2 separate regions of the Homo sapiens genome follow, and region 2 is linked to region 1. Evidence: promoter capture Hi-C in human tissues and cell types (Jung and others, 2019). All regions are on one chromosome and are shown on one strand. Each heading gives the region's core, a stretch centred on a gene start or on the middle of the fragment in contact. The rest is flanking DNA. Distances are from core to core; before and after follow the strand shown. Region 1 holds the start of IFT81 (intraflagellar transport 81). Region 2 overlaps RAD9B (RAD9 checkpoint clamp component B).

Region 1 (4,071 bases), core at 1,056-3,555:
TTGGATTTCCAGACTCTTTATGATCTGGCACAACTTATCCCTTTCCAACTTTATTTCCAAATTGTCATCTTTCTACCCCTTCAAACTTCAGCCTATTGAAACAGTCACTGCTCCTTAGTTTTTCTATCACTCTGCCTTTAGTTAATGTTGCTTTCTCTGCCTAAAATGACTGCGCACCCCTCCTTCATCTCAAGAGGCACAAACCCCCCCAACCATCTTTCAAGCCATGCCCACCAAACGCCAGCTCCCCCAGGAAACCTTTCTCAAGCTATCCTCCAGGTTCTGCAGCAGTGCCAACACCTGTCCTTCATAGCTGACCACACTTTATCTGTGCTTCTCTCCTAGCACTACTTTTGATCTTGTGCTTTTTTTTTTTTTTTTTTTGAGACGGAGTCTCGCTCTGTCGCCCAGGCTGGAGTGCAGTGGCGCGATCTTGGCTCACTGCAAGCTCCGCCTCCCAGGTTCAAGCCATTCTCCTCCCTCAGCCTCCCAAGTAGCTGGGACTACAGGCGCCTGCCAGCACGCCTGGCTAATTTTTTGTATTTTTAGTAGAGACGGGGTTTCACCGTGTTAGCCAGGATGGTCTGGATCTCCTGACCTCGTGATCCGCCCACCTTGGCCTCCCAAAGTGCTGGAATTACAGGCGTGAGCCACCGCGCCTGGCCGATCTTGTGCTAGTTCTTTAGGTACGCATCTTCTCTTCCCTGCTAAACTGTAAATTCCGTATCTGTGTCCAATTCCATTTTTGAACATCCATTGTGTCTAAAACAGTGATTCCTTCCACTAGATTGAATGAACTTGTTCACAGGCACAAGTACAACATAAGCCTAAATCTAAAGGAAATCAGGCTGGCAGTGAGAAAGATCATAACTTTTTAAAAAACTGAATATCTGATTTATTAACTGCTGAAACAGCTTTACCTAGGTAAATGCTTTAAGGATTAAAAATGAATTAAGCAATGAGTTGCTGCCGGGAGCTGTCGTTCTCTCCTGTAATCCCAGTACTTTGGGAGGCCGAGGCAGGCAGATCACTTGAGGTCAGGAGTTCGAGGCCAGCCTGGCCAACATGGTGAAACCCGGTCTCTACTAAAAATACAAAAATTAGCCAGGTGTGGTGGCGGGCGCCGGTAGTCCCAGCTACTTGGGAGGCTGAGGCAGGAGAATTGCTTGAACCCGGGAGGCGGAGGTTGCAGTGAGCCGAGATCGCGCCACTGCACTCCAGCCTGGGGGACAGAGAGAGACTCCGTCTCAACAGAAAAAATAAAATAAAAAAGATAATTTCTCCACAATGATGAAAAATTACGCACAAATAATTATTATTGCTAAGAAATAAGTCAAAAGAGGATAGGAAGGATAACCACCATGGCTTATAATAAATCTGAGGTTTCCTTTAAGCTATAAAAGGAAAACCTTTACGTAAGTTTTTTTTTAAAATCCATATTGGAAGTGCAAGTTTTCCATTGTTTAAAGTATTTTAAGTAAAAGTCCACGTCATAACCTTTGCGTGCAGAAATATGTATTTCATTTTAAATGATTTAGAAATTATCTATAGGTCTACTCTTTTTTCCCTTAAAAAAAAATCTGGATAAACTAGTACAACGTTTCCAGGAAGGCAAAATAAACCAGTTGGGTTCCCCCCAAGTCGCCCACCAGCCTGCAAAAATGGTCACTCGATAAGGACAAAGATGTACTGAACAGGAAGGCTGTCTGTGCCCAGCGGGCTCTGCGCTCTAAAATTAGCAAAAGCAATTACTGTCCCTCTTCTAGCGCGAAGTCGCCGCGCTAATTCCCAAGCACTCACCCACAAACGAGTCGCAGGAGGCGGGGAACAATGAAAACCAGGACGTGCGTGTTCTCTGGCACAATTTGGGAGAGAAACCGTGCTGCCTGGGTCCCAGGCTGGCACGAGCATCGACCCGCAGCCTCCTGGGAGTACCAGAAATAGTGTCCCCCTCCCCGGGCTCGGGACAGGGGACAGGGGACCCCACACCCGACCGGGCCTCTAGCGGGGGCTGCCCTGGGCCCCTCGACAGTTCATCCCTCCAGGGAGCGGCCTGGATCCGCTCGAATCCCAGAAGGGGCCCGATTCCCCTATCCGGGGGCTTAACCGCGACGACCCCTTCCACTTGCGAGGTGCTGCATCAGGACCGAGAGAGGACGGGAGCTCTCTCCTATTTCGGGGTTCAGAGGAGCTTCCGACCGCGAGTTGGCGAGGTTACCTCAAATTCTCCTCACGAAACCGTTTCCCCACCCCCCAGGAGGCGCCCGGGCTCTAGACCGCTCCCAGAGTCGAGCTCCTTGGCAACGGTTGCTAGGCCGTAGAGTTACGTCACTTCCGGGCGAGCGGCCGCTCTCCCGCGCGCGCGCGCACGAGCTGGGGGGCGGGGCCGGGCCAGGGCGGGGAGGACGGGCGCGGGGCGGAGCGGACGGGGCGGGGCGGGGCGGAGCGGACGGGACGGGGCGGGACGGGGCGGGGCGGACGGGGCGGACGGGAGCCGGGCTTACTTGCAAAGCGGGCCCACGTGCTGAGCCACTGCAGACAGCCGAGGGCATTTGGGACTGTTACTCCGACCTAGACGCGCTACAATAAGCTTCCCGAAAGTCCTGCACTTCGCAGTTTACAAAATACTCTCTGCATGATTAACCTATGTTAAATGCGTGTGATGTTTCATTCATTCATTCATTCATGCATGCATGCATGCATTCATGCGCCAAACGTGGGTGATGATTTTTGTTTGTTTTTGAGGCAGGGCTGGGTGGTAGGGGGGTTGGGATGAGCAAGCATTTGGCCAGTGCTTCAAATTTAGGTTTTTGACATAAGTATCTCCAAATTAGGTTATGCATAGGAACAATTGTAGTGAGGCTCTGGCAGGATTAAAAGAAGACACATTCATCATAGAGATTTCAGCTTCTGTGTCACATTACTGGGCCACATTGCCTGTACTGGGAATTAAATTTTTTTAAACCCAATACGTTTTGAGTATGCTGAGAGCCTGAAAGGGGGTGTGGGAGAACTAAGTGTCCTAATGTTCCTTTGGCTTCTGAGTGGGCTCTCTTTAGGTGACTGCAGAAATAAATTAAATCCTCCTTGTGGTCTTCATGGAGTTCACATCCCACGCAGGACGCAGGGAGATCTTTGTGCCCAGTCACTGATGAGGTTTAAAAGTCTACTGGAATTTGCACTAGCTGGTTTGTGGGAGACCTTAGTTGGCAAATGGTATTTTGAACCAACCTCTATTAGACTAGAGACCACGATACTTAGTGATATCAGCTGGCAATGAAAGAAAGAGAAGGAAAAAAAATCAAATTATTGATACCTTGAAAACTTAGTTGCCTGCTCAAACAGCATAGGAGAAACCAACTATAGCTTTAGCATCAGACTTACCACAACAAAAAATAACAGATTACGTATTAGGCATTTCCTATATGCCCTGTACTGTACAGGCTGCTGGAAATGCAGAAGGGCAGGACTTACCTGGCCCCTGCCCTGATGGAGCTGACAGTCTAGTGCCGGCAGAGATTATTAAAGGGGCAACACCAATACAATTGAGATAAATGCTGTAACAAGAGAAGCCAATGATTAGGAGCCCAGATTAAGGGCCTCAAGTTTATTTGGGGAGGGTGGTGCCAAAGGGGCCATACCATCAGGAAAGTTTCTGTCAAATGGAGTGATGTTTAAGGATCAGTAAAAATTAGGCCTGGCACCGTGGCTCACGCCTGTAATCTCAGCACTTTGAGAGACCAAGGCAACAAGATAACTTTGAGCCCAGGAGTTCAGGATCAGCCTGGGTAACAGAGCAAGACCCTTTCTCTACAAAAAATTAAAAGCAAAAATTGGTCAGGGGTGGCACCATTGCACTCCAGGCTGGGCAACAGAAGGAGACCCCCATCTCTTAAAAAGGATCAGTAAAAATTAGCCAAACAGGAAAAGGGAGAGTGTTTTGGGCAGAGGCAACACAACATTCCAAGACCAGTCCCTTTGTTGGCTGCCCTCTGACTGTTGAAATATCAAGCGTAGGTACCCTGCAGGGCTCCTGGAGAGAAACTAAAACTGGCCCCACCCCACAACCAA
Region 2 (4,071 bases), core at 904-3,403, 400 kb before region 1:
CCTTCTAAAGGGCCGGGGTTACAGGCGTGAGTCACTGCACCCAGCCAAGATGGTGATGGTAACTTTCAAAAATATTATTTTTGCTTTCAAATTTCTAATTCTAACTAAGAAACTCATATCTCCAAACCAACAATAACAACAGCAAAACAAGCTTGAACAAAACATTAAACAAGTAAAATTAGGATTATCAATATTTGAGATACTTCAGTTTCTAATACATTGCTTACCTTCAGTTCAGTAGATTTCGTAAGGTTTAACACTACAGCATTCTGTAAAGCTTATCATCTATCTTATAGAATAAGATGTTATTAACTGGGACTCCACTATGAAGGAATTTGTGATATTTGTTGGGATGAAATTTACGTTTGTACTATTATGAATACAAGATTTACCAAACAAATTTGAAAAGTAAAATTAGAAGGAAACATTTTAGGAAACAAATTATTTATATGATCTCAGCATATTATTGTTATTCAAGATAGAATATACCATAAAAAAATCATAATTTATTCTTGGAAACAAGTGACCCAAACCTCTACTTGAATATGCTTTGTTAGAAATTACTGACTGAACAATTTAACTATTTTCTATTGATATTCTGTAAATCAGACTTTTCTCTATCAGACTTTTCTTCATTCTATAATTCAGACTAGCTTCACTTTTCCCCTATCAAAAAATAAGAAAATCAATTTTCAGAACATGGCTGGGTGGGGATTGGGGAGGAAGACTGCAAAGGGAGACAGATGAGAATTCTTGACTGAGATGTGGTTGAATCTCAATGCTTTTACCTTTCTGAGACACAGAGACCCTGGCACTTCCTCTGTGTTGCTGACACTGCTTTCTGATACTTCACTGACATCTCCATCCACTCTTTTCATTGCAGGGCTGCCACAGTTTTCCAATGCAGATATGTTTGTGAGAGTCTCCTTAGGATAAAGCCTTCTTGGTGCTGCTTTTTTTGAAATACATTCCAGGGCCTGGCCAGTTACATTTTTGCCAGCCTTTTTTTCAATCAGATCTGACCTGAGGTATTAATAGGCATTAAATGAATGAACTGTTTATTGTGAAATATATTTTTATATAACTAATGGACAATGTGGGATGACAATGATAGCACTGGATTAGGGAATATATTGAAATACATGGAACTAAATTGTTGCAAGTTAAAATTTATATATATGATCATTTATAAATTCTCTTGACAGACAATCTTTCAGTAAAGCAACTCATTGTGCATAGAATATCTTGTGATATGGTAACAGGAGCAAGTTAGGGGAAAAGTCAAGTAAATTACTATACATCTATATGATAAAATTGTGTACAGTCATTAAGAATCATGTTTTCGGCCGGGCACGGTGGCTCACGCCTGTAATCCCAACACTTTGGGAGGTCAAGGGGGGTGGATCACGAGGTCAGGAGTCCAAGACCAGCAGGGCCAAGATGGTGAAACCTCGTCTCTACTAAAAATACAAAAAAATTAGCCGGGCGTGGTGGCAGGCACCTGTAATCCCAGCTACTCTGGAGGCTGAGGCAGAAAACTGCTTGAACCCAGGAGGCGGAGGTTGCAATGAGCTGAGATGGCGCCACTGCACTCCAGCCCGGGTGACAAAGCGAGACTCTGACTCAAAAAAAAAAAAAAAAAAAGAATTATGTTTTCAAGTCATTATCAGTGATATTGAAACACACCCACAATACCAAAACCGCATATGCTCTATGATCCTAATCTTGTTTTAAAATACAAGGATAGGCCGGGTGCAGTGGCTCACATCTGTAATCCTAGCACTCTGGGAGGCCGAGGCAGGTAGACTGCTTGAGCCCAGGAGTTAAGAGACCAGCCTGGGCAACATGGTAAAACCCGATCTCTACAAAAAACACAAAAATTAGCTGGGTGTGGTGGCAGGTGCCTGTAGTCCTGGTTACTCAGGAGGCTGAGGTGGAATGCTTCAGCCTGGGAGGTTGAGACTATGATGAGCTATGACTGTGCTACTGCACTCCAGCCTGGGTGACAGAGTGAGACCCTGTCTCAAAAAATTTTTTTAAAAAATTTGAAAATACAAGTATACACAAAATTAAGTCTGAAAGAAAATGCAGTGAGCCAGAATGTTACAGTGGCTATCTCTGGGTGATGCAATTATGAGTAAGTTTTATTTTCTTCTTTGTACTTTTCTCTATTTTCCAAATTTCCTGAAATAACTTTTACAATAAAGCATCATTCTTCCCCCAAAAGAAAAGAAATTAAGAAAGAAAAAAAAGCCAGGCGCAGTGGCTCATGCTTGTAATCCCAGCGCTTTGGGAGGCTGAGGCGGGCAGATCACAAGGTCAGGAGTTCGAGACCAGCCTGACCAACATAGTGAAACCCCGTCTCTACTAAAAACACAAAAATTAGCCAGGCGTGTTAGTGCACACATGTCATCCCAGCGACTAGGGAGGCTGAGGCAGGAGAATTGCTTGAACCCAGGGGGTGGAGGTTTTAGTGAGCTGAGATCATGCCACTGCACTCCAGCCTGGGCAACAGAGTGAGATTCTGTCTCAAAAAAACAAAAAAAAAACAACAAAAAAAAAAAAAAAAAAGAAAGCAAGAAAGCAATGGCTATCCCTATATCTGAGCAAAAGTTCTAGGAAGTGAATATAGACTTTCCTGTGAAAACACTATATTACCCCTAAAAAAAAACAAAAAAAAAAACTAAAGGCCCGATGTGGTGACTCACACCTGTAATCCCAGCACTTTGGGAGGCTGAGGCAGGTGGATGGCTTCAGCCCAGAAGTTTGAGACCAGCCTGGGCAACATGGTGAAACCCTGTCTCTACAAAAAAAAATACAAAAAATTAGCTGGGTGTGGTGGCACATGCCTATAGTCCCAGCTACTTGGGAGGCTGAGGTGGGAGGACCACTTGAGCCAGGGAAATGGAGGCTGCAGTGACTTGAGATTGCGCCAGAGCACTCAAGCCTGGGCAATGGGAGTGAGACCTTGTCTAAAACAATAACAACAACAACAACAACAACAAAAACTAAAAATTGGAATTGAGTTCTGGGAAACAACACAGATAAACCAGACAGTCTTGTTCAATTCTGGTCAGAACAGAAAAAGCAAATATCTGACACGAGATTGGTGATGTTTCTATGCTACAGGTAAGTTTCACTACAGCTCTTCTGTATTCAGTCAAAATTTGTTAACTAATATTTCACTCCTCAATTGTTTCCTAAGTGAATGCAAGTGAATTATTTCAAAATAAGATTATGATGGCTTGTCCCAAGTAATAAAGAAGTTAAAACACAGTCTTACCTTTTTCGTTTCTGTGAAAGACACAGTGACTGTGGTGAAGATGCTCTACTTTGTTCATCAGCTAATGTGGCCAAAATAAAGTTAGCTTCCACTAACATATCATCAATACTCAAAGCCAGAGGTCTAAAAAAGCCAAGTCAGAGCAACAGTGACACTCATTTTCTGATGGACATTAGAAACACATTAGAAATGATACTTAATTCTGGACTAAAAAGAAACAGGGGAGGCCAAGGCGGGTGGATCATCTGAGGTTGCGAGTTTGAGACCAGCCTGACCAACATGAAGAAACCCCGTCTCTACTAAAAATACAAAAAAAAAATTAGCCGGGCATGATGGTGCATGCCTGTAATCCCAGCTACTCAAGAGGCTAAGGCAGAAGAATCACTTGAACCTGGGAGGCGGAGGTTGCAGTGAGCTGAGATTGCACCATTGCACTCCAGCCTGGGCAACAAAAGCAAAACTCCATCTCAACAACAACAACAACAACAACAACAACAACAACAACAAACAGTAGGCCGGGTGCTATGGCTCACGCCTGTAATCCCAGCACTTTGGGAGGCCGAGGCTGGTGGATCTCTTGAAATCAGGAGTTCAAGGCCAGCCTGGCCAACATGGTGAAACCCCGTCTCTACCAAAAATACAAAAATTAGCCAGGCATGGTGGTAGACGCCCGTAATCCCAGCTACTTGGGAGGCTGAGGCAGTAGAATTGCTTGAACCCGGGAGGCAGAGCCTGCAGTAAGCCGAGATCATGCCACTGCACTCCAGCCTGGGCGACAGAGTGAGACT

The links. Contacts are between HindIII fragments. The study calls those that stand out against the background at their distance.
Region 2: a contact is called between a fragment that was not itself captured here and the fragment with the promoter of IFT81 in region 1, in 1 of the 25 tissues and cell types used here (hippocampus).

Annotation. Positions count from the first base shown.
Region 1 is chr12:110,122,591-110,126,661 of GRCh38, reverse strand. It overlaps IFT81 (intraflagellar transport 81), which reads right to left and starts at 2,305. Exons shown (of 19, transcript NM_014055.4): 1 at 1,801-2,305. RefSeq lists a silencer at 2,222-2,491. The HindIII fragment of the contact is 7,034 bases long and covers 1-4,071 here.
Region 2 is chr12:110,519,129-110,523,199 of GRCh38, reverse strand. It overlaps RAD9B (RAD9 checkpoint clamp component B), which reads right to left. Exons shown (of 11, transcript NM_001286535.2): 9 at 3,284-3,406; 10 at 789-1,023. Among named protein-coding and RNA genes, the nearest start is that of RAD9B, 19 kb to the right of the region's middle. The HindIII fragment of the contact is 3,878 bases long and covers 215-4,071 here.